Linked DNA regions of Homo sapiens: regions 1, 2, 4, 5, 6 and 7 are each linked to region 3. Evidence: promoter capture Hi-C in 16 types of primary human blood cells and fetal thymus (Javierre and others, 2016). All regions are on one chromosome and are shown on one strand. Each heading gives the region's core, a stretch centred on a gene start or on the middle of the fragment in contact. The rest is flanking DNA. Distances are from core to core; before and after follow the strand shown. Region 1 has its middle 87 kb from the start of BPNT2. Region 2 has its middle 110 kb from the start of BPNT2. Region 3 holds the start of PENK-AS1 (PENK antisense RNA 1). Region 4 has its middle 190 kb from the start of LINC00968. Region 5 has its middle 160 kb from the start of BPNT2. Region 6 has its middle 200 kb from the start of LINC00968. Region 7 has its middle 48 kb from the start of BPNT2.

What was found. The method cuts DNA at HindIII sites, captures the fragments that hold promoters and counts their contacts. A CHiCAGO score of 5 or more calls a contact.
Region 1: a fragment that was not itself captured here is called in contact with the fragment with the promoter of PENK-AS1 in region 3 in 5 of 17 cell types (total B cells, M0 macrophages, M2 macrophages and 2 more); the score reaches 8.2 in total B cells.
Region 2: a fragment that was not itself captured here is called in contact with the fragment with the promoter of PENK-AS1 in region 3 in 3 of 17 cell types (M1 macrophages, M0 macrophages and naive B cells); the score reaches 6.0 in M1 macrophages.
Region 4: a fragment that was not itself captured here is called in contact with the fragment with the promoter of PENK-AS1 in region 3 in 1 of 17 cell types (monocytes); the score reaches 6.7 in monocytes.
Region 5: a contact is called between a fragment that was not itself captured here and the fragment with the promoter of PENK-AS1 in region 3, in 2 of 17 cell types (monocytes and M2 macrophages). The highest score is 6.2, in monocytes.
Region 6: a fragment that was not itself captured here is called in contact with the fragment with the promoter of PENK-AS1 in region 3 in 3 of 17 cell types (monocytes, M1 macrophages and M0 macrophages); the score reaches 8.2 in monocytes.
Region 7: a contact is called between a fragment that was not itself captured here and the fragment with the promoter of PENK-AS1 in region 3, in 2 of 17 cell types (naive B cells and M0 macrophages). The highest score is 6.3, in naive B cells.

What each region holds. Positions count from the first base shown.
Region 1 is chr8:56,905,095-56,908,728 of GRCh38, forward strand. No RefSeq gene overlaps it. Among named protein-coding and RNA genes, the nearest start is that of BPNT2, 87 kb to the right of the region's middle. The HindIII fragment of the contact is 2,355 bases long and covers 553-2,907 here.
Region 2 is chr8:56,885,228-56,888,983 of GRCh38, forward strand. No RefSeq gene overlaps it. Among named protein-coding and RNA genes, the nearest start is that of BPNT2, 110 kb to the right of the region's middle. The HindIII fragment of the contact is 3,560 bases long and covers 438-3,756 here.
Region 3 is chr8:56,444,453-56,448,230 of GRCh38, forward strand. PENK-AS1 (PENK antisense RNA 1) reads left to right here and starts at 1,355. Exons shown (of 4, transcript NR_125813.1): 1 at 1,355-2,048. PENK (proenkephalin) reads right to left here and starts at 2,189. Exons shown (of 4, transcript NM_001135690.3): 1 at 2,117-2,189; 2 at 1,974-2,029; 3 at 1,364-1,504. The coding sequence starts at 1,501. RefSeq lists an enhancer at 960-1,851. The HindIII fragment of the contact is 3,142 bases long and covers 1-1,951 here.
Region 4 is chr8:56,747,036-56,750,796 of GRCh38, forward strand. No RefSeq gene overlaps it. Among named protein-coding and RNA genes, the nearest start is that of LINC00968, 190 kb to the left of the region's middle. The HindIII fragment of the contact is 1,170 bases long and covers 986-2,155 here.
Region 5 is chr8:56,835,932-56,839,706 of GRCh38, forward strand. No RefSeq gene overlaps it. Among named protein-coding and RNA genes, the nearest start is that of BPNT2, 160 kb to the right of the region's middle. The HindIII fragment of the contact is 9,729 bases long and covers 1-3,775 here.
Region 6 is chr8:56,762,412-56,766,424 of GRCh38, forward strand. No RefSeq gene overlaps it. Among named protein-coding and RNA genes, the nearest start is that of LINC00968, 200 kb to the left of the region's middle. The HindIII fragment of the contact is 4,605 bases long and covers 111-4,013 here.
Region 7 is chr8:56,944,009-56,947,773 of GRCh38, forward strand. No RefSeq gene overlaps it. Among named protein-coding and RNA genes, the nearest start is that of BPNT2, 48 kb to the right of the region's middle. The HindIII fragment of the contact is 1,873 bases long and covers 1,480-3,352 here.

The sequences.
Region 1 (3,634 bases), core at 480-2,979, 460 kb after region 3:
ATTACTAGGCCTGGCCTCTCACTGCATTTCAGAGCTCAGCATGTGTGTGTGTGCCATTGTGGATGGCATGACCAAGTGTGGAAAGCAGAGTAACTAAAGAAAGTCAAATTCTATATTCTGACTGTGCAGTTGCTTCAAAACATTATAGAATAATCCAGAGCTAGGGCCAAACAGTACTGCCACTTAGGGGCGGAGTGTCAAGCAGGGCACTTGAGGGACGGTGATAGAATTCTAAATTTACAATTTTATAAACTCTTCTTGTTCCCTGTTTATGCACAATCATTTACTAATGACTATCTTAAAATATAGAGGCCATAACTGAACAGAGTACTCCAGACATGGTCTCTCCAGTATATAGAGCAGCAATCACTGGAGTCAGGATTTAGATCTAATTTAGGATCCTCTGTTCAGTAGACAAGTGACTTTGGTCATATTCCTCACAATCTCTAAGTCTCAGTTCCTTTATCTGTTAAAAAAAATACACAATAACACTGACTACACAATATTATTATAAAAATTACATAATATATGGCTACATTAAGTGTCTATCCAAGCTTTTTGTAAATTGTAAATTTCATATTATGTTACCTATGTTTTTATTAAAGTTGGTAACTTATTTACTCAATGAGGTAAGGCCAACAACAATGCCATTTGATATTCCATTTCAGATAACATCAAAAGGCTGTTCAATTACTAATATTCCAACCTGACTTTGTTATCATCCGCCTTAACCACATAGGTGACATAATGCATAACAAAACAGAGTTTAAACTCTGGAGTCAAACACATCAGGTTCAGGACAATGTCCCAGCTACAGGACATTGGGTGGTGCTCACCTGATCCAATCCTCAAGTTTCTCATGTAAAAGATAGTCATATCACTGGTAACAACTTGGGACCTACTAAGTGTTCAATATATATTAGATAGTATTCATAACTACCTTTCAATCTTAAAAAATAATTTGTCTACATCGTGTTGCATATCTATAGTTAATTTGGCATGTATGCTGTCTCCTAGTGGTCATGTTCTTTCCAAAATGGTCATGACCCTGTGACATGTTTGGGCATGTTGGTTACTGCAGCCTAGCCTGCCTTTTCTTTCTTTTTTTAAGCCCAGGCTGGAGTGCAGTGGTGCAATCATGGCTCACTGCAGCCTCGACCTCCTCCCACCTCAGCCTCCTAGGTAGCTGAGAGCACACCATCATGCACAGCTAATTTTTTGTATTTTCTGTAGAGATGGGGTTTCGCCATGTTGCCCAGGTTGGTTTTGAACTCCTGAGCTCAAGCAACCCTCCTGCCTTGGCCTCCCAAACTGCTAGAATTACAGGCTTGAGCCACCAAGCCCAGCCCTAGCCTACCCTTAATGAATACAACCACAGATTGGTTTAATAATCTCCTCCGAGTCCCTCTTGTCCTCCTGTTATAACTCTACAGATGTTGAAGTCCATCTGGCAGTCTTTCCTGATCACGCATTGCCCTATTTTATTGACTGCGCTTCAGAGCACTTGACTGCATCTACACATTCTCAACACCTCCCACTGCTGTGTGTTGTACTAATTTGGGTAGGTGTCTCTTGACAGTCTCTGAATTAGAATTCAAGCTCATAGAACTGAAACAATGTCATTCTTTAAATACCTCAATTCTACCTTGCCTATCATAGGATACGGAATAAATTTATCAACCAAATGAATACGTGAATGAATGAGTGTTCCAGAATTTAGTTGGGTTACCTAAATCAATATAACCAATGTTACATTTCTAATATCTTGTCCTTAGCATTTTTCAAAAGTTTCAACTCATTCTGGATTCCCTTCTGTAGTCTGTCTTTTAAGTATAGTTTGTATCATATTTTTATTCATTTTTCCCTTCTCTTTTGGTTATATGATTTTTCTTCCTACTTTTGTATGTATATTTTAAATCTAAGGTCATCTGAGAGCTTCCTGTGCAGCTAAATGTGAATTTCCTTGGTTGTCCATGTCTTTTCTTTTCAGCTGGAATCACTTGTGGTTGTAGAGATCCACCTTTAGAACTTTCCATTCCTCTCAGATAATATGTTCTGTTGAATCTGTGCCTGGAACGCATCTGGGATGGGCTGTTGTTTGTGCTGTTGGAGAAACCCCAGCTGTTAGCACTTAGGGGTCATGGTCACTACATAATGCTCTCCAGGGCAGTGAAGTCTTCCTGAGGGAAGCAGTCCCCTGGGCATAATGTGAGCCTGGAAGGCTACAGTTATCACCTGCTCTAGGCTCCTGGCTTTCTGCCTAAGGGAGAGGTCCACACCGCAGGAAGCTGGAACCACCCTCCACGAGCCTTGTGCTGGCCTGAACTCATTGCCTGCTCCTCTAGCATATCCCTCTCCCTCCTGCCAACTCTGTCTGTCTAAGTCTCCCTGACAGTATCTTTTCTCTCTCTCCGTCTATGTGTGTGTGTGTGTTGGTCTGTCTGTCGTATCCCTCCTCTGTCTACCCTAGACTGCCTACCTCTACATCTCTGTCACTGTTTTCATCCTTCTCGCTTTCAACTGTTTAATATCCATACTTTTATTTCTAGGATTCTTCAAATAATATTTTCCTAACTCTCTTTGCTCTTGTGTTTCCTTCCAGAGTCTCTAGCCATGAAATCATGCCAGCCTTTTTATGAACTCTTGAACAATCTGTTATCCTAAAGTCTAGAGTGCATGTCTGACCATGCCTACTGTTTCCTTTCTTCACTGTTACGGATTCCAACATGACTTGATTTCTCACAAGTTTAGTATAACCTTTACTCTAACAGTAAGCTCTTTCTCGTTCGTTAGAATTAAAAACAGAATAGCAACATTCCTTGTTGCTTCCCCTTCACACTAAAAGATGAAATTTTCAATAAAGAATGCCAGAGTTCTACTTTCCACAGAATGTCCTAAGAGTTGAAAAGCTTCCTCACTGTTACTTCTTGCCTCTGGGCCACTTTATATTCTGGAATAAGATCCTTCCTCTATAACTTCTACGTGGTCGGAAAGTCTGTTTTACATAATCACAATATGATCACTTGTTTCTGCTCCCTTTCTTCAGCACCTGGGTGCTATCTACCTTAAGATCATGGCTTTGTATAAACTTTATACATTTTTTCAAAAACAAGGTTACTATATTCTATTAGAGCTGTTTCCTTTGAAAGAAATCTATCTTTTGGTGTGTTATTTCAGTCATGAATTTCATACCACCAATAATTGGAGATATTCAACTTCTGGATTATGAACTACTTTAGGTCAGCAGCCATGATATATTCATTGTTGTATTTTCAGAGTCAAGAACAGTCCTGAAACATGCTTAATGTGAATCCGTTAAACTGAACTGATACTTATTTTAAAATTACAAGTTTAATTGACTCCCACTAATGCACTGTGCATATATATGCAAACACTTGAGACCTTAAGTGAATTTCAAATATCTTCATCTCTCCTGAAAATGAGCTAATATTTCTTTCACAAGTTCTCTCTCTGTTTTGCTTCTCATGGTACATGATGTAGAGTTTTGTTGGATATTTTCTCCCCAGCTTCGTATTTTAATTTTAAAAGCTCTTGATCAACTACTAATAGGTCATTATTATTGAGAAGCATCAACTAGCCTAGAACAACATTAAGTATTTTATACATCTTATTT
Region 2 (3,756 bases), core at 968-3,467, 440 kb after region 3:
TTATATTAATGGGGAGAAAAGTAAGTCACATAAGAACACATGGGGTATTGTGATTCCATTTATATAAATTCTGAAAAAGAAAAATTTAACAATAGTATTTCTGAATACATACATACATATGTGGTAAAAATTTAAAATAAAGGAAAGTTAATAATAACACCAAATTCAGACCAAATTCAGGTGTTATCTTTGGGGGAAGGTGGGAAACGAAATCATGGAACAGTAGTACCCAGAGAGCATCAAATATACTGGCACTGACCTATTTCTTAGGCTTGAGATAGATATATGAGTGCCTGCTTATTATTATTTTTCACAGTACCTATATGTTAGTTGCACGTTTTTGTTTATGACATGTTACAGTAAATTTTAAGTGCTGTGTGGATGATTAATACATATATGGTAATAGTCATAGTGCATATTAATTTTATTATAGAGAAAGCTTTGACACTTGGGTTTATTCAAAGATAACGTAACTATCGACCTGAGAATATTTTTTGGATGGTTTCAAGTATGCCATGGGACTTTGGCCTAAGGCCTGAACTCCTTCTTGTTCATAACTTGCGCAGGTGTTTACCTGGGGGCCCAATCACCCCCTCATTAAAGTGTTTACCTACCACGAGATTATCATATGAGCTATTGCTGAATTGACAGTTTCTTATGCTAAGACTGCCTAAATTTCCTCTATTAGTGTGTCTTAGAATCTAGGACCAGGCTGATAGAAAGGAAAATGAAACAAGGTGTAGGAAATAAAGATCTGAAATCATAGTGGGTGAACAGGTCATTACAACATAGATGACAGTGACCTGCAAGTATTAGAAGTCAGTTACATGAAAAGGCAAAGAGACTTCTGCATTGCTCCTGAGGAGTTCTTTGCACATTTCAGGGAGGCAGAATTTAGCACATTATGAGAAAGAACTTTGCAAAAATTCTAGTTATTCAAAGAAAGCTGAAAAATGAGGCAAGAAGCTCTCTAGTAGGTGTTTTATTCCTGCTGACAGTCCCACTGCCTCTGATTTGAAACCCGATTATTATAATGACTATCTTTATCCCATAAATGGGGAGCATGTTGAATAGAAAGGCAGAGTCTCATATGATTGTCATTGCACCCCCATAAGATAGCATTGTGTATAGCCTATCATAGATGCTCCAAACTAAACAGAGCTGGTGCAAGTGACTTAAGTTGAGGCTGAACTGCTTTGCTCCAGGAAACAATGCCAGTTCCTTCCCTTGATAAAAATACTTATCCTTGGCTTATACCAGTTTGATTCTCAGTTCCAGTCTCTCTGTTATGTCTACATATCCTGATCACAGTCTGGAAGTAGTACTGAGGATTGATTGAGGAGCATGTGAACTCCACCAACAGAGACGGAGAAAGGGGATCAGGACTATGAGAAAGATAGATGCTGCGGAGGCCAGAGAGAAAGCAAATGCAGATGTTGAGGAAAGGATGGGTATTTCCATAAGTCATGGTGAATGATGTCACTTCAAATATTCATATGACATATAACTCCTATAAACGACTTTACCAGCTCAGGATACAAATATACCATCACCTCTTACATCCTCAGATTATCATTTAAATCCTCTGAACTGTTAGTAGAAAACACAGAATTCTTTTTAAGACCTCTCCTACACTAACACCACATCCAGTTGCCAAAGGGGGAAAAGGAGGGAAAGGCCCTGGGAGTCTACACTCTGCTAGTTTGGGTTGAAGAGGGACAGTTGCAGTTCCGCCTCTAAGTACAGGCTTCTGATTCTTTCCTGCCTCTTGTTGCCACGTGGTATACGTGAAAGGACTGTCCTGGTCAGTCTTGCAAAAGTGAGTCCCTTGGCCATGACGTTCCACGTAGTCCCTGATGGTGACTCACACCTGGATCTTTGTCTACGAATAGATGCTCAGCATTGTTTCCCATTGCCTTTTGTACCACTTGGTGTCTGTTACCCCATAGTCTTCCAGGTAAACCCAATACAGTTTTCCAACTTTGGGTCTCAGGGAGGGAGCATCAGCTAGCATTGTTTCCTTTCTTATCAGAAAGCACTTCCTTCCTTTTGCATCACATGACGTATTTATCATCTTGAGTGTCTCCCTCTGAAGTGGGTCCCACTGAAGAAATTCTTCAAGCAGCAAAGACATCAACCTCAAAAAATAACAAAGTTCTAAAAAGTAACAGCTGGGCCAGGTGTCCCATTAAATCTCCACCTTGATTTAAAATAAAGCTCAAGGTGAGTAAAACCCGAATGAACAAGGGCAATTTTAAGGTATCCTCCTATTGCCCTAAGGCAAATGGATGTCCCAAAAACAAACTCCGTGAATTCAACTCCAAAAGCACGGAAGTCTAAACTAGCTTGTCAGTACAGCTGTCTTTACTGTGTTATTTCTCACACTACTCCACACAACTCTCTACAATTCTTTTTTTTTCTAGTTCAAACTTTCTCATTTTATTTTCCTCAATCTATAATTTTGAAAAATTCAATCCTATAGGAAAGTTATAGGGAAAGCATGATGAAAAGTCATATACCCTTCATCTAGATTCACTAATCTCTTTCTGCACATATATGTGTGTGTGTGTGTATGTGGTGTGTGTGTGTGTGTGTGTTTATGCATGGGTATTCAGTGAACCATTTGACAATTAGTTCCAGATATCACAATATTTCAGCACACATCTCCTAAGAATAAGAATGCCCTCCCATATTACACTGTACAATGTCTCTCTCAGGAAATTAACATTGCTTCAATACCATTACAGTTCATATTCAGGTTCTTCCTTTTTTCCCACTTTTCTCTCTCTTTCCAATCAAAGAGCTTGTATTACATTTAGTTGTCGTGTTTATCCAATCTTCTCGACCTGTTATGTATTCACATGACTGATGAACAATTCCTCAAACTGTTAGGTAGATCGTATTGCTGATGTTTTTGAAGACTTCAGGCCTGCTGTTTTGTGAATGTCCCTTTGTCTGTATTTGTACAGCTTCTCCCCCATAATTAGGTTCAGATTAGACCATTGTTGGCAGTTATATTAAACATCCTCTTTAAATATCTCTTTCTCTAAAATGCCTTTCCTCGAGGCAGCTTTCACATCTCTGTGGCTCTCTCCAGGGCTTGATGATGACTTTAATGGGCCCTGGGCGTGTTTCCCTTCATGGACCTCTTTCTCCATAAAAAATATTAATAATTATATTTTACAATTGTGTTGGTATAAGGGCTAATATAATCCATCTGTATTTATTATTATATATTATTATATTCATTTATTTATCCCAATTTTAAAAGAAATGAAAATTAAAGTGTCCCATGAGCCCCTAAACGTACCAGGGGCCTGAGGCACTGAGCACAATGGGCAAGGTGGCCCTGGCTCTTCCTCCCTCGCCCCAAGGGTTCTCTGTCTGTCTCTGTCTCTCTGTCACTCTCACCAAATTCCCCAGCCCCGCCAGCTCTGTGTCTTATTCCCTGCTTCTGCTGATAGAGAATACATCCCTCTCTCAGGGGCCCAGTTCACCTTCCCTCAGCTCTCCCTTTTCTTCTCCAGGCACGCCCATCACCCTCTCTACCCGAGACTCCGCTTCTTCAGGCAGGCTTCAGGGAAGGAGCCAGTCATGTGTTCTGCCCTGAATTTACTATGAGAAATTGGATCCCACAGTCCCTGGCAGTTTTTTGCCATTTTCTTCCTCTGTCAGTTTAACTTTCATCACTATGGGGACTTCACAAGATGAAATCAGCTAACTCGTAGCACAGAAGACTGCAGTTTGAGGCAGAGA
Region 3 (3,778 bases), core at 105-2,604:
TGTTTTGGATTTTTCTTCCTCCTTCTGTGTCTAAAATTCTTTATCCACAAGATCTATCCTTATATTTGTAGCACTGGCTCAATTTTTAGGCATAGGTTAAAAGCTCATGACTACAGGAGAAAGAAGAAAGATGGGTGAAGGGGATTGTTTCTCCTATTGAAGATGAAACATTTTTCTCATAGTTTAAATATACAACCTTCCTATGTGTCTTCTCTTTAATGCCAAGTTAGCACAGGTCAAAGAAACAAACATTTAACCTGAAATATATACCACAGATATTTGGAAACTGTTCCTTGGTTTTCTCCCCATTTCAAACATCTACATAAGGTAAAATTTCCTCAATTCCAGGTGGAACCCAAAGCAGCTTGGATGAATACATTATTCTCTATGAGCTTTTTAAGTCACCATAAAATTTCAACAAATTTCAAAAGCAATGCAAAGGAATTGTCAGGGGAGCTGGTAAAAGTGAAGCTACCTGAGTCTCGAGGTTGGAGATTCAGACTCAGTAGAGCACCAGAGGTGATTCGACAGCCCATGGGGAACCATGATCAGAATGAAAGTTATTTTGTCCTCAGCTTTTTCTTTCCCCAACCCCCTGTAGTGCAGTGTATCTTTGGACTGTTGTCACCCATTGGACACTGGCCACTTCTCTTGTTCCTTTCTCATAGCCAAATTAAACTGTTGTTTTAGTTACTATTACAAAGGGCAGTTGAAACAGAAGTTGAATTCCAGCATCACTGGCTAGTGAGACAGTTTGAACTCTTTCCTGTCTACGGTTATTTCGCCTTCCTCTCCCCGTACCCCTTTTCCATCCCTTTGCTCTCTCCTATTTACAGGTGAGGGTAGGGAATGAGGGACCTGAGGTTAAGAGAGCTGGGGAACATAAATCTAAAGAAAGGCACCGAAATGTCACTAACAAAAAATTACATTATTTGTGGGAAAGATGGGAAGATGACTGCGTGTGGAGGGGCCCTTAGCTGGGATATGTTAGGAGTTGTGGTGACAGCCATCTTCCTTCTGACAGCCCAGGAGAGAACCCAGTGCTATCCGAGGTGCTGAACAGAGGACTTCTCGGGGTTCCCGAATTCCCAGGGTTAAAACAAACTTGGTTTGTGCGGCGACACCGCTACCCTTACCGGTCCCCAGATAGTCGCGGATCCCCGAAGCTAAGAGCCAGGGCAGGACTTCAGTCAGTGTTCCAGGAACAGCTGAGACACCCAGGTCACCACGGGCTCGCGCCGCTGCGGCTCCGACCCGGTGCGAACCGCCATACGCGCCGCGCGGTGGGCCGGAGGCAGTCCGCGTACTGTTGCGGAAACTCTGTCTCACAAGGTGCGCAACACTCGCCGCGCGCAACACTCACCAGGAAGTTGATGTCGGCCGGGCGCACTAGGCGGTAGCTGCACGTCGCGCAATCCTGGCTGCATTCGGCCCGCACGGTCGCCAGGAGCCCGGGGCCGAGCAACAGCAGCCAAGTGCAAAGTGTCAGGAACCGCGCCATGGACTGCGAGGAGAGAGGGACGCGTGCTTCGAGCCTGCCTGGGCGCAGAACGGGGTCCCTCGGCAGGACCCTCGCCGCGACAGCCTCAGCAGGGGATCGTCGAGCAAAAGCCCGCAGGAATGCTCCTTTCTGGGGCCCCGCCCTCCCGGCCGACAGCTTTTAGGTAGACGTGGAGGCGACTCAGATCGCCTCGCGGTTCCCGGGATGGCGCGGTCGCCCCCAACGCGAGGCTGCCTGGGGCACCCGGCTCTTTTCCTGGGCGTCCGCGGCCCAGGGCAAGATTCCGGAGAGAACGCCGCAGACCAGGGGCGAGAGAGCGGGAGCCGGGGGAGGCAGGACATTGACTGGGGTCACAAAGAAGAACCAGGGAACGCTGTTGGGGAACCCATGCAATGAAATGTGAAGGGAAAGAGGGCGGGCAGACGTCCCCAAACCCGCTCAGCAAAGACAAGCTTCGGGCAAATTCACTCACGTTGACGCTGTTCGGATGGAGCAGGCCAATTGGAAAAGCCGGGTTCAGACACGACTCTAGAGGGAAGAGAAGAAGGCAAGTGTGAGGAGGGCGGGCGTCGGGGAGAAGCGGGCCCGGGTGTGCTGGCGGACGTAGGGCCTCACCGTCGCGGTCCTCAGCGTCTCTGCGGGGTCACGGGCCAGGCTGCGGGGCTCTGAGCGCCTGCCTCGCCGTCCCGGGGCTTAACGGCTGCTGGAGCCACTTTATAATTAGCCCCAAACCGAAGGAGGCGCGCGCGCCCCAATCGCCGGCGGGCTGCAGCTGACGCAGGCCCTACGCCAGCCCCGCGCCGACGCCTTCGCGGGAGGGGTCGGTCCCCCAGCACCCGCGCGCCGCTCCCCCCGCCGAGCTCGGGTGGGGGCCACAGGGGGCGCTCGGTGGCTCCCCACACGGCCAGGTGACAAACCCAAGGCAGTTAGGAAGTTTGGGGAGAGTGAGATAGGATCAAGTTTCTCCGCATAAAGTCACTGAAATTGCACCGTGGGATGCGGGCTCCAGGGAGGGAAGCGAGGTGGGGGCGTTTGGAAGGATAGATGGACTGGCTTAGACTTCTGGAATGTGCTGGAGACCCAGCGGGCCGGTGAACCTGCCCCTTTCCCGCCTCCTCCCTGGGCCCCCTCGCGGGTCCCCGTGGGCACCAAGCACAGCCGTCCGGAATGTCGTCATTTATTGACCAACCTGTCCCCCACACTTGACTCCGAGTTCCTTACTGCAGCATCTAACAGCGTCAAGGTGCGCAGTTTAGGCGCTCAATTAATGGTTACAGGAACTGAACGATTGAAAGTTTCTGGGAATCTTAAAATCTCAGGACAGAATTTTCACCTTTCCAGTTAGAGACCCTTGGCCAAGCGTAGAAGCAGGTAAACCCTCAGGTTCCGGGACTGCGCGCTTTTCAGCCACTGTGGGAGAGGATCCGTGTTTAACCAGCTCCCCGGGGCTCCCAAGTCGAAGACCTACTGCCTTGAGAGCGCTGTCCAGGGTGTCCGGGGGTGTTGGATCAGTGAGAGGGGGGTGCCGGGGCGGGTGTAATGTCAGCGCGCCAGGAGTGTGGTGGGGAGGGAGGGATGAGGGACACCCTACCCGGGACGCCGGGGCTTGGAACCTCTTCTCCACCGGGAGGGGGCCGAGGGCACACTGTGGAGGCTGGTACTGTCCATTAAGACACGCTTTCCCGCTTCCTGGCTCTGCAAAAGATTGCTAAGCGGCAAGCTGCTTACATTGCCTGAGGCCTCAGTTTCCCTATTTGAAAAATAGGAACAGAGGTAATATGCCATTCATAAGGTTCTGGAGAGAATCAAATGAAATAGTGGACGAAATCTCTTAGCCTTGTGCCTGGCACTATAGCAAGCCCTCAAAACATCTTCTAACCATCCGTCATCCGTCCGTCCACCTTTCCATCTGTGACCATTGTCTGCTTACCTTATAGCTACCATCGATGTATCCAATCCACCTATGCATCTATGTCTCCTAGACCTAGGGGGAAACCATAAACAGTTCCTGGGAAAAGGTCCCAGAGGTTTCCAGGCCCTCTGCGCCCTCTGCAAAGGGCTGATTTCTACAGTCGCTAGGACCTGCAGCGGCGCTGCTCCCGCGGGGCTCCGGCCGCGCTGCATGTCCCATTATAGTCGCTAGAGGGCAGCGCTCTCCTGCGTAGGCTGGGCTTGCGGGGACTGGGGTCTCAGTTCTCCGCAGGCCTCAATGTGCGGGCTTGACACGCAGCCCTCGGATTAGCCCCGAAGCTGCACCCGAGCACCGCCTGCCTCCCG
Region 4 (3,761 bases), core at 321-2,820, 300 kb after region 3:
ACATAAATAACGGTTGATTTTAAACCAAACTGTACCATGTATGTAAATCGAGTCAATTATTTAGTTGTCATATGCTGTATTTCTTACAGGTTCCATCTGATGCATTGATTCCAAGGGAGGGGATTTCTAGCTCAGATTGAAGTGTTGAAGGGGCACAGCTAACAGGGACAGGTAGAGGTCCTATTTTGTAGCAGAGTATGATTATTCCACTTACTCAGGGTGTATTATAAATTAAAGGAATTCGAAAATAATTTTCCTAAAACATGTTTATTCACTTTGCATATTTTTCTTTCCTATTATTTTCCCACTTAAATTTACACAGACTGGTCTACATGTTCCAACAGTACTCCATGGTGCAGACATGCACACCCTTTTAGTACTTCTCTTTGCAGCAAAGCCTCTTAACCTGTGGCCCCTGGGCCCTGAGTGGCTCAAGGATGGTTTTCAGCAGCTCTAGTCACTCCCTGGAGTTGTGTGGAAAATTTTGTGGGTAGCACATATGTGCATTCTTCTGCACAGAGTAACTTTCATTAGAAGACCTGAAATACATTCCTCCAAAATAAAGAACACCTATTTATCTGTTCCTTTCATTTAAACATCTGAGGACACACAGATCTCATTTATGAGCCCTGATTCCTGCAACATACACAAAACAGATTTCTATGAGAAAAATCAATGATAGCAGTGATTAAATCAAACACATTTTTGTTTAAATGCTAGATTTATTTGAGATATAATTGATGAAATAGCTATAACTACAGTCCCATTTCACTTGAGGTTCTTGAAGTGAAGAACTCCATAATTTTACCATGAATACCCAGTGATTTTAAATGCCCAATAGACAATAGAAGTGGGTAGAGCAAAAGGAAAATAAGAATTTTAGGGAGCAAAATATTGGGTACCTTAGGCCAGGGGTCCCCAATCCCTGGGCCATGGACCAGTACCAGGTCACACAGCAGGAGGTGAGTGGCAGGTAAGCCAGTGAAGCTTCATCTGTATTTACAGCCACTCCCTACTGTTCGCATTACTGCCTGAGCTACACCGCCTGTCAGATCAGCAGTGGCAATAGATTCTCATAGGAGTGTGAACCTTACTGTGAAACTGCGCATGCGAGGGATCTAGTTTGCATGCTTCTTATGAGAATCTAATGCCTGACGATCTGTCATTGTGTCTCATCTCCCCCAGACAGGACTGTCTGGTTGCAGGAAAACAGGCTTAGAGGTCCCATTGATTCTACCTTATGGTGAGTTGTATAATTAATTCATTACATATTACAATGTAATAATAATAGAAATAAAGTGCACAATAAATGTAATGTGCTTGAATCATCCCCAAAGCATCCCCCTCTCCCTACCCCCAGTCTGTGGAAAAGTTGTCTTCCACGAAACCAGTCCCTGGTGCCAAAAAGGTTAGGGACTGCTGCCTTGGATGCATTGACCTTTGCACTCTCCATGTGTGCTCTAATTTAATGGGGATGTCCTAGTGCAAAGGCAGCCAACTGCTCTTCAGAAGGTGGAGGATGCTTTCTGCCTCCCTCGGCCCCTGTAGGTGTCTAGTTTGGGATGTTTAATACAGAGACTCTTTCCCAGGGCTTGGTTATTCGGTGATTATGAAAGTGAGCACAAATATTATATCAACACTCTGCAGAGTGTTAAGAATATTCACAAGTTTTTATTAAAAATATAGGACATAAGAACAGTGGCTCTAACTCTGGAGATCAGAATTACTTCATTTAGTGTGTCTGTAAAGCTGCTATACTTGTTTTCTACAGGAAAGACATGATGCCTTCTTTTTCTTTCAATTTTGCTAACATTGTTATAACAGTTAATAGATTACACCATTTAATTCTTACAACACCCCTATCTGGTAGATGTGATTGTGTAAGTGTGGAACAAAGGTGGAAACAGATTAGTGAACTTGAGTCACGTGTGCAAGATCAAGGTAGGAGCCACAGCCACAGCATGTGGCCTTGGAACTACACCTGATGGTTACAACACATCTCCAGTGGTACAGATTTGGGTTGTAGTTCTGTCACAGAATTTTTTGGAGGCTTCCAATCTTGCCTTTCAACTGAGGCTCCAGTCTCTGACCTCTTCAGTCATGTTCTCAAACTTGCACACATAGGCAATGCTGTGGAAATGAGCTCCTGAAAGAAAGCTTAATCAAAGAATGGAATTTTACCACTAACTTTATCATCTTAGGCAAAATTTGTGATGTGTGTTTGGTTTTGTCACCTGGAAGTTGAGGGAAGTATCTAGGGGCTCTTCCCATTCTTCCCATGATCAATGTTGAACAAAGTATGAAGAGAGGAATGCATATCTGGCTCTCTTTCCCTCATCCCACTAGATTACTCTGTCTTCACAAGGTATATTTCTTAAATTAACATTTTAGTTTTAGTTCTGTGTACAGTCATGTGTCATTAACAACTGGGATACTTTCTGAAAAATTTATCATCAGGAGATTTCATCATTGTGCAAACATCACAGAGTGCACTTCCACAAACCCAGATGGTACACCTACCACACACCTGAGCTATACAGTACAGCTTATTGCTCCTAGGCTACACACCTGTACAGCATGTTACTCTACTGAATATTGTAGGCAATTATAACACAATGGTGAGTATTTGTGTATCTAAGCATAAAAAAGTACAGTAAAAATATGTCATTATATTCTTATGGAACCATCATCATGTAAGTGTGGTTCTTTGTGGACTGAAACGTGTTATGTGGCACATAACTGTACATGCATCCCATTGTATTAAGTTCTATGACTTTATGTTACAGAATAGCTGATTGCCTGTTCTTACGGAAGCTTTTTGTCCTCAGGGAATACAGACATTTACAGAGCAGAGAAGGGATTCCTACCTTTCCTTCCCCTCTCCGTGCTTAGAAAGTGTCATGTTTTTCTGGGTGAAGAAGATACATTTTACTCATGTTAGACATAGATTTTTAACCTCAATCATCAAATGACCATTTTAAGGTCTCATATTTCTAATTGAATTGATTTTATTGGCCAGGTAAAATAGGGCTAATAATAGTTAAAATAATGAGTGATTATCATATGCTTGTCACAAAGATAAGATCTTTATGTATGTTATTTAATCTGTACAGCAATGTCTAGGTCACAATAATGGGACCAGGTATGTGCCATTACCTTTTTTATTTTATAGATAAGGGCATTTTGTTAGTGTGCTAGGGCTGCCATAATGAAGTACCACACACAGCGTGGCTTAAACAACAGACGTTTATTGGCTCACAGTTCTAGAGGCTGGAAGTCCAAGGGCAAGGTGCCCGCAGGTTGGTTTCTTCTGAGGGTTGTGAGGGAGAGTCTGCTCTAGGCCTCTTTCAGGTGTCTTTGTACCGCCTCCCTCCGTACTTATCTGTGTCCAAACTTCCTCCTCTCATGAGGACAACAGTCATACTGGATTAGGACCCACTCAAACAAGTTCATTTTAATTCAATTGCCTCTTTAAAGACCTTATCTCCAAATCCAATTACATTCTGAGACACTGAGGGTTGGAACTTCAATATATGAAATTTTGAGGGGCCACTTCAGCCCACAGCAGGTACTGAATGCCAGAGAGTTTTAATAACCTTAAAGTCTCACAGCTGGGGTGTGGCCAAAAATTAGATCTGCCACAATGGCTGTGCATGATCCTATTTTTCTCTACCCTGTGGTTTTATTTAACTGGTTGGAAATCTATGGAGAGAAACAGGAGAGAACACAAGAAGTGAACTTGATGTTTATATAGAGTTTAC
Region 5 (3,775 bases), core at 501-3,000, 390 kb after region 3:
AATTTATAATATTTATGGATGTTTGCAGAATTTAAACTAATTGGAATAATCATTCCAGTTGTTGATCAAATTAGAAATGATACCATCAAAACTTTTTGAGCCTTGATTTTAAAAAATAATTCATTCTTTCCTATTTCAAAAAAGTAGATCTGTGACTGTCTATATCGGTTAATGGAATATCAGACAATTTAAATCAACCCTGCCCTGGAAGTCAATTGAAAAACAAGAGTAAAATTTTAAAATTTTTTGTAGAAGCATTGACTATATGGCAAAAGAAGAATTACCAGGCCAAAATAAAGTGGAAAAAAATCAAACACAGAAGGATAAGGGTGCACAGATGCTTTAGCCTTGAGGACATTTCAGATGCGGGGGTGAGTGTAGGAATTAGTAGAATGTTTGCTTTGACAGTCTATGGGAGAACAGGATGGAGGGTTGGCAGAGGGTACAGAAGACTCTCCGAACAGTAAGCTAGGATTCTACAATATTATTTCCCAGGGTGAAGGTGAACCGGAGGTGGAGCAAATCATAGGAAACACAGCCAAGATCAAATCAACTGTCTCAAGCCTTCAACCTGGTTTATAGAGAAACCAAGCTCTGGGAAAAAAGCAAACGTAAATCTTCTCTGGAGAAAAATATCTTCATTTTAAACCTGAAATTATTTCTATATATTTTATTTTAATCATTTCTTACAGGATAATAATAATAATAAAGCACAAGAGGAAATTCCATGAGTGAGAACCAGCAGAAGTAACAGAAAAGATCCTTAAAATATTGAGGAATTGGAATGATCAGACTCAGACTGTAAATTAACTATGCTGATTATGTACAAGGAAATAAAAAGCAAGTTTCAAGATATGTGCAGAGAAAAGAAAGTGATAAAGAGGAACATAAAAGATTAGTAAAAGAACTAAGTGGAACTGTTAGAAAAAATCTCAATGGGCAAACTTCAGCTTCTGCCCAAGATGTAGTAACAGGAACTGGACTTACCCTCTTACCACAACAGCAAGCAAACAAAATATGTAAAAGTTCAATTGGCAGGTTTAAGAGCAGACTAGACACACCTCAAAAGAGAGTAAGTGAGCTGGGAGATAAGTGTGAACAAACTCTTCAAAGTGTGAAAAGGAGAAATGAAAAGATATGACACAGAAGAGGGTAAGACATGTATGTAAGAGGTGCATACATTTAATCATAACCCCAGAAGAAGAGACAGAGAATACAGGGCTGTGAATTTTACAATAATTCATTTTAAAATGAAACTGCATTTTGAGATAATTACAGATTCACACATAGTTGTAAGTCATAATACAGAGAGATCCCCTGTGTCCTTTACTCAGTTACCCCCAATAGCAACATCTTGCAAAATTATATTACAATATCAGAATGAGAAAATTGAAATTGACACACTAAAAAACAGTTCCATCATGCAAGGATCTCTCTTAGTGTCCTGTTATAGCCACATCTACCTTCCTTGTCTCCCCTTTCCTAACCCTCGGCAACCACTAAACTTTGTTCCACCTCTAAAATTTGTCATTTTATATGAGTATTGTATAAATGGAATCGTAGAGTGTGTGACCTTTTAGGATTGGATTTACTCATTCAGTATTACTCCCTAGAGATTCATCCAAGCTGTGTGCATCAACAGCTCATTCCGTAGTGTGGATGTACCCAAGGCTATTTAACCTTCATCCACTGGATACTTTCTAGTTTTTGGCTATTACAAATAAAGCTGCTATGGACATTCATGTTCAGGTTTTCATTTCTCTGGGGAAAATGCTTAAGAGTGCAATTGCTGAGTCTCCTAGTAGTTTCTTGTTTAGTTTTGTAAGAAACTTGAAACTATTTTCCAGATTAGCTGTAGTATTTTACATTCCCACCAAAATATATAAATGATTTCGTTTCTTTGCATCTTTTCCAGCATTTGGTGTTGTCACTGTTGCTTATTTTGTCCATTCTGACCGGTATGTGGTACTCTCTCATCCTAATCTTAGTTTGCATTTCCCTAATGGCTAATGATGCTAAATATAATTTCATGTGCTTATTTGCCAACCATATATCCTCTTTGTTGAAATCTCTCTTCAAATCTTTTTCCAATTTTCTAACCGGATTGCTTGATTTTTTTTCACTGTTGTGTCTTGAGAATTGTAGCTTCTAGATACTAGTCCTTCATCTGGTATGTGGTTTGCAAATACATTCTTCCAGACTATAGGTTGTCTTTTCATCATTTTAATAGGCCTGTTGTAAAGAAAAAAGTTTTTATTTTTATGAATTCCAGTTTATCAAAATTTCCTTTTATGGATCATGCTTTTGATGTTATGTCTAAGAACTATTGGCCTAGCTCTAGCTCTAGACTACATTCTAGAGATTTTCTCCTGTGTTTCTTTTTCTAAAAGTTTTCGTTTTTTTGTTTGTTTGTTTGTTTGTTTGTTTGAGATGGAGTTTCGCTCTTGTTGCCCAGGCTGGAGTGCAATGGCGGCATCTCGGCTCACTACCACCTCTGTCTGCCCGGGTTCAAGTGATTCTCTTCCCTCAGCCTCCAGAGTAGCTGGGATTACAGGCGCGCGCCAACATGTCCAGCTAATTTTTGTATTTTTAGGAGAGACTGGGTTTCACCACTTTGGCCAGGCTGGTCTTGAACTCCTGACCTCAGGCAATCCACCTGCCTCAGACTCCCAAAGTGCTAGGATTACAGGCGTGAGCCACTATGTCCAGCCTTTCTAAAAGTTTTCTATTTTTACATTTTACATTTAAGTCCATGATCAATTTTGAGTTAAATTTTACATAAGATGTGAGGTTTGAGTTGAGGTTATTTTTTTTTTTTTTTTTGCCTATGGAAATCCAATTTCTTCAGCATTATTTATTGAAAATATTACATTTTCCTTCCTCCGCTGAACTCCTTTTGCATCTTTGTCAAAATCAGTTTACCATACTTGTGTGAGTATATATTTTTCTCTATTCTGTTCCATTAATCTTTGTGTCTATTCCTCCACTTACATCTTGATTGCTGTAGGTACCTATTTTATTAAACCTTAATATCAGATTCCTCCTACTTCCCTCTTCTTTATCAAGACTGTTTTAGCTATTCTAAGACCTCTGCCTGTCCATATAAATTTTAGGTTAAACTTATCTATGTCTAGAAAATATCATCTTCTGGAATTTTGAAAGGAATTACACTAAATCTCTGGGTCAATTTTGGGAGAATTGACATCTTTACTATGCGGAGTCTTCCTATCCATAACACAGTATGTCTCCTCATTTGCTTAGATATTCTTTGATTTCTTTCACCAGCATTTTGCGGTTTTCAGCACACAAATCCTGTACATGTTTTATCAGATTTATAACTAAATATTTCACGTTATTTGCTGTGATTGTAAATGGTATTGTGTTTTCATTTCAGTTTCCACACGTTCATTGTTGTATGCAGAAATGTGATTGATTTTTTTGTGTTGATCTTGTATCCTGCAAACTTGTTAAACTCACTTATTAGTTCTAGAAGTGTCTATTTTTGGGAAGGGGATAGATTTCTTGGAATTTTCTGCATAGATAATCATGGCATTGGCAAATAGGAACCGTTTCATTTCTTCCTCTCCAATCTGTATGACTTTGATTTGTTTTACTTGCCTTACCGTAGTGGCCAGATTTTCAGTTTGTTGTTTAAGGGGTTAAAGCAGATATCCTTACTTTGTTCCCAATATTAGAGACAAAGCAATCATTCCATTACCATTAAATGTGATGTTAACCGTACTTTTTTTGCCAAATGTGCTTTATCAAGTTGATG
Region 6 (4,013 bases), core at 1,163-3,662, 320 kb after region 3:
AATACTTGGAGAAAAAACCAGATATTTGATATATATCTCACCTGAAAAAATTAGACAACTGATACGTGCTCTGTAGTTTTTATGTTTGCTTTGTGATTTTATCTTATTAAAGCTTCTTACCAGATGTCAGAGATGTCATGACAGAAAGACATTTAAAAATATTTAGAAATTTTTTATTTTATTTATTTATCTATTCATTTTTTATAATTTCAACTTTTATTTTAGATTTGGGGGTACACGTACCTAATTGTTACATGGGTATATTGTGTGATGCTGAGGTTCAGGATATGAATAATTCCGTCACCCAGGTAGTGAGTATAGTGCACAACAGTTAGATTTTCAATCCTTCCCCCTTCCTTCCTCCCACTTCTAGTAGTCCCCAGTGTCTATTGTTGCCATCTTTATGTCCATGAGTACCCAATGTTTAGCTCCCAGGCATAAATGAGAACATGTGATATTTGATTTTCTGTTTCTGTGCTAATTCACTTAGCATAATGACTTCCAGCCACATCCATGCTGCTGCAAAGGACGTGATTTCATTCATTTTTATGGCTGTATAGTATTCAATGGTGTATATGTACCATATTTTCTTTATCCAGTTCACTATTGATTCCATGTCTTTACTATGGTGAATAGTGCTGGAATGAAGTGTGTCTTTTTGGTAGAAGAATTTATATTCCTTTGGGTGTTGATGTGGTTTGGCTGTGTCCCCACCCAAATCTCATCTTGAATTGTAGTTCCCATAATCTCCACGTGTAGTTGGAGGGACCTGGTGGGAGGTAATTGAATCATGGGAGCGGTTCCTCCATGTTATTATTGTAATAGTAAGTTCTCACGAGATCTGATGGTTTTATAAGGAGCTTCCCACTTTGCTGGGCTCTCATTCTTCTTCCTGCTGCTATGTGAAGAAGGATGTGTTTGCCTCCTCTTCCACCATAATATAAGTTTCCTGAGGCCTCCCCAGCCCTGGGGAACTATGAGCCAATTAAATCTCTTTCCTTTATAATATACGCAGTCTTGGGCAGTTCTTTATATCAGCATGAGAACGGGCTAATACAGGTGTATACCCAGTAATGGGACTGAGGGGTCAAATTGTAGCTCTGTTTTAAATTATTTGAGAAATCTTCAATCTGCTTTCTATAGTGGCTGAACTAATTTACATTCCCACCAACAGTGTATAAGCATTTCCTTTTCTCTGCAGCCTCACTAGCATCTGTTATGAAAAACATCCATATTTTTATTACAGCAGGAATAGACTTCAGCCCTTTTATTTTTTAATAGACTTTATTTATTTATTTATTTATTTATTTATTATTGTTATTTTTTTTTGAGACGGAGTCTCACTGTCGCCCAGGCTGGAGTGCAGTGGCACCTGGCCAATAGACTTTATTTTTTACAGGAGCATTATGTTTCCAGAAAACTTGAGCAGAAAGCACAGAGATTTTTCCATACATTTTCTGCCCCCAAATATACACAGTCCTGCCTGCTATCAAAATCCCCTCTAGAGTGATGCAGTTGTTACATCCCATGAACCTACATTAACACATCATGATCACCTAGAATCCACAGTTTACAACGCCTTTGGTGCTGTACATTCTATTGGTTTGGACAAACGTATAATGACATGCTTTCACCATTGTAGAATTATACATAATATTTTCGCTGCCCTAAAAATCCTCTGTGCTCTGCCTATTTAACCCTCCCTCCCCTCAACCCTTGACAACCTCTGATCCTTTTACTATCATTTTAGTTTTGACTTTTCCACAATGTCATGTAGTTGAAATCAAATGGTATGTGGCCTTTTCAGATTGGCTTCTTTCTCTTAATAATTATGCATTTAAGTTCCCTCCATGTCTTTTAGTGGCTATTAGCTCATTTTGTTTTATCACCAAATACTATTCTATTGTCTGGATGTAGATGGCTCCCAAGTTTTGGAAATTATGAATAAAGCTGCTGTAAACATTCATGTGCAGGTTTTTGTGTGGATATAAGTATTCAATTCATGTGGGTAAATACCAAGGCAATCAATTTGTGGATAACATATTAAGAGTATGTTTAACTTTGTCAGAAACTGCCAAACTGTCTTTCAAAGCTGCTGTATCATTTTGTATTCCCACAAATACAAAATTGTCATTTTAATTGTCATTCTGTCATTTAAAGCTATCCTGTTTGTGGCATTTTGTTATGGCAGCCCATAACAGAAGACTTCTTTTTTCCCAGTCTTGGATGCTAGAATTTGCTCCACATCTTCACCACTATTTGGTGTTGTCAGTGTTCTAGATGTTGGCCACTCTCATGGGGATGTAGTAATATTTCATTATTGCTTTAATTTGCATTTCCTTAATGACATACGATGTAGAACATCCTTGCATATGTTTATTGTCCATCTGTAAATATTCTTTGGTGATGTCTCTGTTCAAGTATTGTGCCGAGTTTTTAATAAGGATTTTGTTTTCTTATTACTGAGCTTTAAGTGTTCTTTGTACATTTTAGATAACAGTGCCTTTTTATGTAATTTGTAAATATTTTATATAATTATGTAAATATTTGTGAAATGTAAATTTTGCAAATTTTGCAAATATTTTCTCCTTTTCTGTAAATTATCTTTCCATTCTCTAGACAGTGTCTTTCACAGAGCAACAGTTTTTAACTTTAATACAGACCAGTTTATCAATTTTTTTCTTTCATGGATCATGCCCTGGTGTTGTATCTAGTAAGTCATCATCATGCCAAAGATCATCTAGGCTTTTTTTGTGTTATCTTTTAAGAGATTTATAGTTTTGTGTTGTGTTCTAAATTTAGGGCTATGATCCATTTCGAGCTTGTGATGAGTGTAAGGTCTATGTCTAGATTCTTTCTTTCTTTCTTTCTTTTACATTTGGAAATCAGGTTGTTTCAGCGCTATTTATTGACAAGGATACCCTTTCTCCTTTTCTCCATTGTATTGCCGTTGCTCTGTTGTCTAAGAGCAGTTGACTATATTAATAGGGGTCTATTTCTGGGCTCTTTATTCTGTTCCATAGGTTTATATATCTTTTCTTCTGCCAGTACCACACTCTCTAATTATGGTAGCTTTATGCAAGTCTTGAAGACAAATAATGTCCGTCCTCCAACTTTGTTCTTCTCCTTCAATATTATACTGGCTATTTTCTATCTTTTGCCTCTCTATATAAACTTCAGAATCAGTTTGTTGATATATACAAAATGACTTGCTAAAATTTTGATTGGAATTTTGTTGTATCTAGATGAAGTTGGGAAGATCTGCCATCTTGTCAACATTGAGTCTTCCTATTGATTATATGGAATACCTCTTCATTTATTCCATTCTGCTTTGATTGCTTTAATCAGAGTTTTTAGTTTTCCATATACAGATCTTGTACATATTTTGTTAGAGTTATACCTAAGTATTTCATTTTTGAGGGGAGCTAATGAAAATTGTGCTGTAATTTTAATTTCAAAGTTCACTAGTTCATTGCTGATTTAAGGAAAGTCACTGACAATTGTATATTAATCTGGTATCTTGCAACATTGCTATAATTTATTATTAGTTCCGGGAGGGTTTTTTCCTAATCCCTTGGGATTTTCTGAATAGACCATCATGTTATCTATGAACAAAGTTTTCTTTCTTTCTTCCCAATCTGTAATCTTTTATTTCCTTTTCCTTTTTATTGCATTAGCTAAGGCTTCCAGTATAATGCTGAAAAGCAAGGGTAAGAGGGGACATCCTTGCCTTTGTTCCTGATCTTAACAGGAAAGCTACTATTTTCTCACCAGTAAGTAATGTTAGCTGATTTATAGATATTATTAATCAAGTTGAAAAAGTTCCCTCTATTCCTGCTTTACTGAGAATTTTAGCATACATAGGTGTCAGATTTCATGAAATGCATTTTCTGCATCTATTGATATGATTGTTTGACTTTTTTCATTAGTCTTTTAATGTAATGGGTTATATTAATTGATTTTTGAATGTTGAAACCGACCTGCCTACCTGAAATGAATCCCACTTGCTTTTA
Region 7 (3,765 bases), core at 1,166-3,665, 500 kb after region 3:
CTGAGCAAGTGGAAACATAAGGAATTCTACCTATAAGCAAATTCCTGTCATACTTTTAAATTTTTATGCCCAATTATTTATATGGGTTATGATTTTGTACAATTACTTATCACTCAGTGCTTTTGTTACACATTTAAATGAAACAAACTTGTGTGGCCTCTATGATGATGTCTGTAAAATAATTAAATACCAGACCTGGAGCTGAGCTGCAGTAGACAAGGACATTTAATCCCAGGCTACAGAAATCATAAAAGCATCTATTCTCTTCCAAGTGGCCAGCCAACATAGTATCCAATGTGAAAGGAGTTTTGTCCCCCAGGAAACAAGGAAATAAAACCCTTTTTTGTGACAACATAAAGCTGAAAATGGATCTTAAAAATGGACGGTCAGAAAAAGAACCCTCAAAGAGAAACAAACACCTTCAGGGCTGAGAAAATGAAAGGAAACCATTCCAACGGCAATAAGGAGCAGGCAGTGGGCATGTGGCTGGAGGAAAGCAACCTTCTTTAAACAGTCAATGCAAGCTCTGAATGTAAGGTCTGGAATTTGACTATTTACAGTCTGAGAAGCTGTGAATATTCTGCAGTTAAATATGAGGCACAAATTCAGGGAAATATGTGCAGCAATTCTGGCCCCTGTGAGACATGGACCATGTAGAGCCCACAGATGAAGCTCTGTGGAATGAGAAAACTCAAAAATAGTAAGAATAGCTAACCTTTATAGGTGACATTGATGCAAGTAAACCCCTAAATTGGAGCTCAGCTCAGGAGTTTTCTTGATAGTGAAAGAAAGCAGGTTTATTAGGGCAACAGTGTACAGCAAAATGGCTGCTCCATAGACAGAGCAGGGCTACTACATAGGCAGAGTAGCACTCGTGAATTGCTGGCTAGCTATATTTATACCTACTCCTAACTATATGCTAAATAAGGGGTGAGTTATTCATGAACTTTCTGGAAAGAGGGCAGAGAGTTCCCTGAACCATATAAGGTAAATTCTGGGCATTGCCATGGCATTTGTGAATTGTCACGGCACTGATAGGAGTGTCTTATAGCATGTAAATGTATTATAATTCCTAGTCCTAGCTGTTTTTAGCTGGTTTCTCTGCTTCATCCTACAGCAGGGCCCTGAAAACAATCCTGCTGCTCTCCTACCTCAATGTGATGTCTTGTGATTAGACCTTAGGGGAAAACAAATTATCCTAATTTTTCAGATAAGAAAACTGAGTCACACAGGGGATAAATCATTTGTCCAAGGTCACTCAACTAGATAAGAAGCTATCCCATCCGACTACTGTGCCTGTGTTCACCACTACCCTACATTCCCTCATCTGAGAATAAACATCTCTCTGGGCTGCTGCAACTGCCACAAAGGCTTGTTGCTTTTTTAATAGCTCCTTGAGAGACAGAATAGTAAATTATAATTAGAAACCCACCAAATAGCATTTATGGTTGCTGTACCTGGTTAACTTACACTACCTAAAGCTTGTGAAGTTCTTGTTTCATTGGGTGGAAGGATACTCTTGACAAGTCATTGTTGTTTTCATAAAGTCCCAAACTGTATAGCTTCAAATTAATGCTACTTATCAATATCTCTATGGTGCACACATCACGTGAATATTTTGGAAAATTTCAAGTGCTCAGGAGGTGTATTAGTTTGTTCTCATACTGCTATGAAGAAACACCCGAGACTTAGTAATTTATAAAGGAAAGAGGTTTAATTGACTCACAGTTCAGCATGGCTGGGGAGGCCTCAGGAAACTTACAATCTTGGCCGAAGCAAAGGAGAAGTTGGCTTCTTCTTCACAGGGAGGCAGGACGGAGTGAGCGCAAGCAGGGGAAATACCAGATGCTTATAAAACCATCAGATCTCATGAAACCCACTTATTATCACAAGAACAGCATGGGGGAATTTTCCCCCTCCACACTTGGTCTCACCCTTGACATGTGGGAATTATGGAGATTAAGGGGACTACAATTCAGATGAGGTTTTGGGTAGGGACACAGCTGACCCACATCAGAGGGGGCGGGACAGCAAGCATCTTCCCTTATAGGAGGAAAAAGATGTGGCACCCTTGGCTGGTACAGTGAGTGATTGACATGTGCTGTTTTTCTTGCTATCCAGAAGTCACTATGTGAGATACTGTGAAATATATATTTAGTCTTTATCCCCATTTCCTGTCTTACAACCTTAAAATCCTTGGAATCTCCAAGCACTTTCTGTATGCTATTGTTGATAGATAGCTTCAGTGTGGGGCTGGTCACTGGAAAAGAAAGAGCTTGATTCAAGGGTTGGGACTTTCAGCCCCACCCCCAACCACCAGGGAGGGTGAGAGGGGGTGGTGCTGAAGGTCAAGTTGATTACCAGTGGCCAATAGTTTAATCAATCATGCCTGCATCATGAAGTTTCCATAAAACCCAAGAGGACTGGTTTGGATAGCTTCCAAATAGCTGAACTTGTAGAATAATTTCCTGAAGGGTGCCCTGCCCAGGGAGGGCATGAAAACTCTGTGCCCCTTCCTGCATACCTCGCCCCATGCATGTCTTCATTTGTATCCTTTATAATAAATGTGTAAGTGTTTCCCGAGTTCTATGAGCTGCTCCTGAACCCAAAGAGCCCTAGGGGCAAGGGAACCCCAATTTGAAGCTGGTTAGTCAAAATTCCAGAGACCTAAAATTGGTATCTATGGGGAGTGAGGAAGTCTTGGAGATTGAGCCCTCAACCTGTGAGATCTGCTGCTATCTCCTGGCAGATAGTGTTGGGATTAGATTGGAGGACACTAGCTGGTGTCCTGTAGAACTGACTGCTTGCTTGCTGATGCGGGAGAAATCCCCACATATTTTGGGGTCTGTGGGGTTATGATATATATTGGTTTTCACCCACAGTTCCTAGCTCATAGCTCCCATAGCCCTTGTTGCAGTCTTTTGTTATCAAGTTGGGTGTGTTAGGCCTCAGAGGCAGCCCTCTGACCCTCTTCTGCCTTCTTTCACTCTAACATTCCCCGCCTTTCTGATTGTGACTCCTGAGATTCTCCCATGGAAGACTCACTCTGTCACCCAGGCTGGAGTGCGGTGGCACAATCTCGGCTCACTGCAACCTCTGGCTCCTGGGTTCAAGTGATTCTCCCTGCCTCAGCCCCCCGAGTAGCTGGGATTACAGGTATTGCCATCATGCCCAGCTAATTTTTGTATTTTTTAGTAGAGACAGGGTTTTGCCATGTTAGCCAGGCTGGTCCTGAACTCTTGACCTCAGGTGATCTGGCCATCTCAGCCTCCCAAAGTGCTGGGATTATAGGCATGAGCCACCATGCCCAGCCCCATCCTATACTCTTGGGAAAGGAATGCTGACATCATGAAGCTTCCATAAAAACCCAAGAGGACAGGGTTTAGTGAGCTTCCATAGCTGAACACGTGGAAGTTCCTGGAGGGTGGTGCCCTGGGGAGGACACGGAAGCTTTGCATTCCTTCCCCCATACCTTGCCCTCTGGATCTCTTCATCTGTATCCTTTGCAATATCCTTTATAATAGACCAGTAAACATAAATAAGTGTTTCCCTGAGTTCTGTGAGCTGCTTCAACAAGTTAATCAAACCCAAAGAGGGGTTGTTACTGGGTAGCTAGACAGGCATCAGCAGGGCAGGAGAGGGCTCCCTCTCCCTGCAACACACACACCAGGGGTGTCAGGCACCCATCTGGTGAGGGCCAGGCAATTGTTAAGCTGTCTCTCTAAAATAAGAAATAAAATAAATAATAAAATAAGTTGCAGCCAG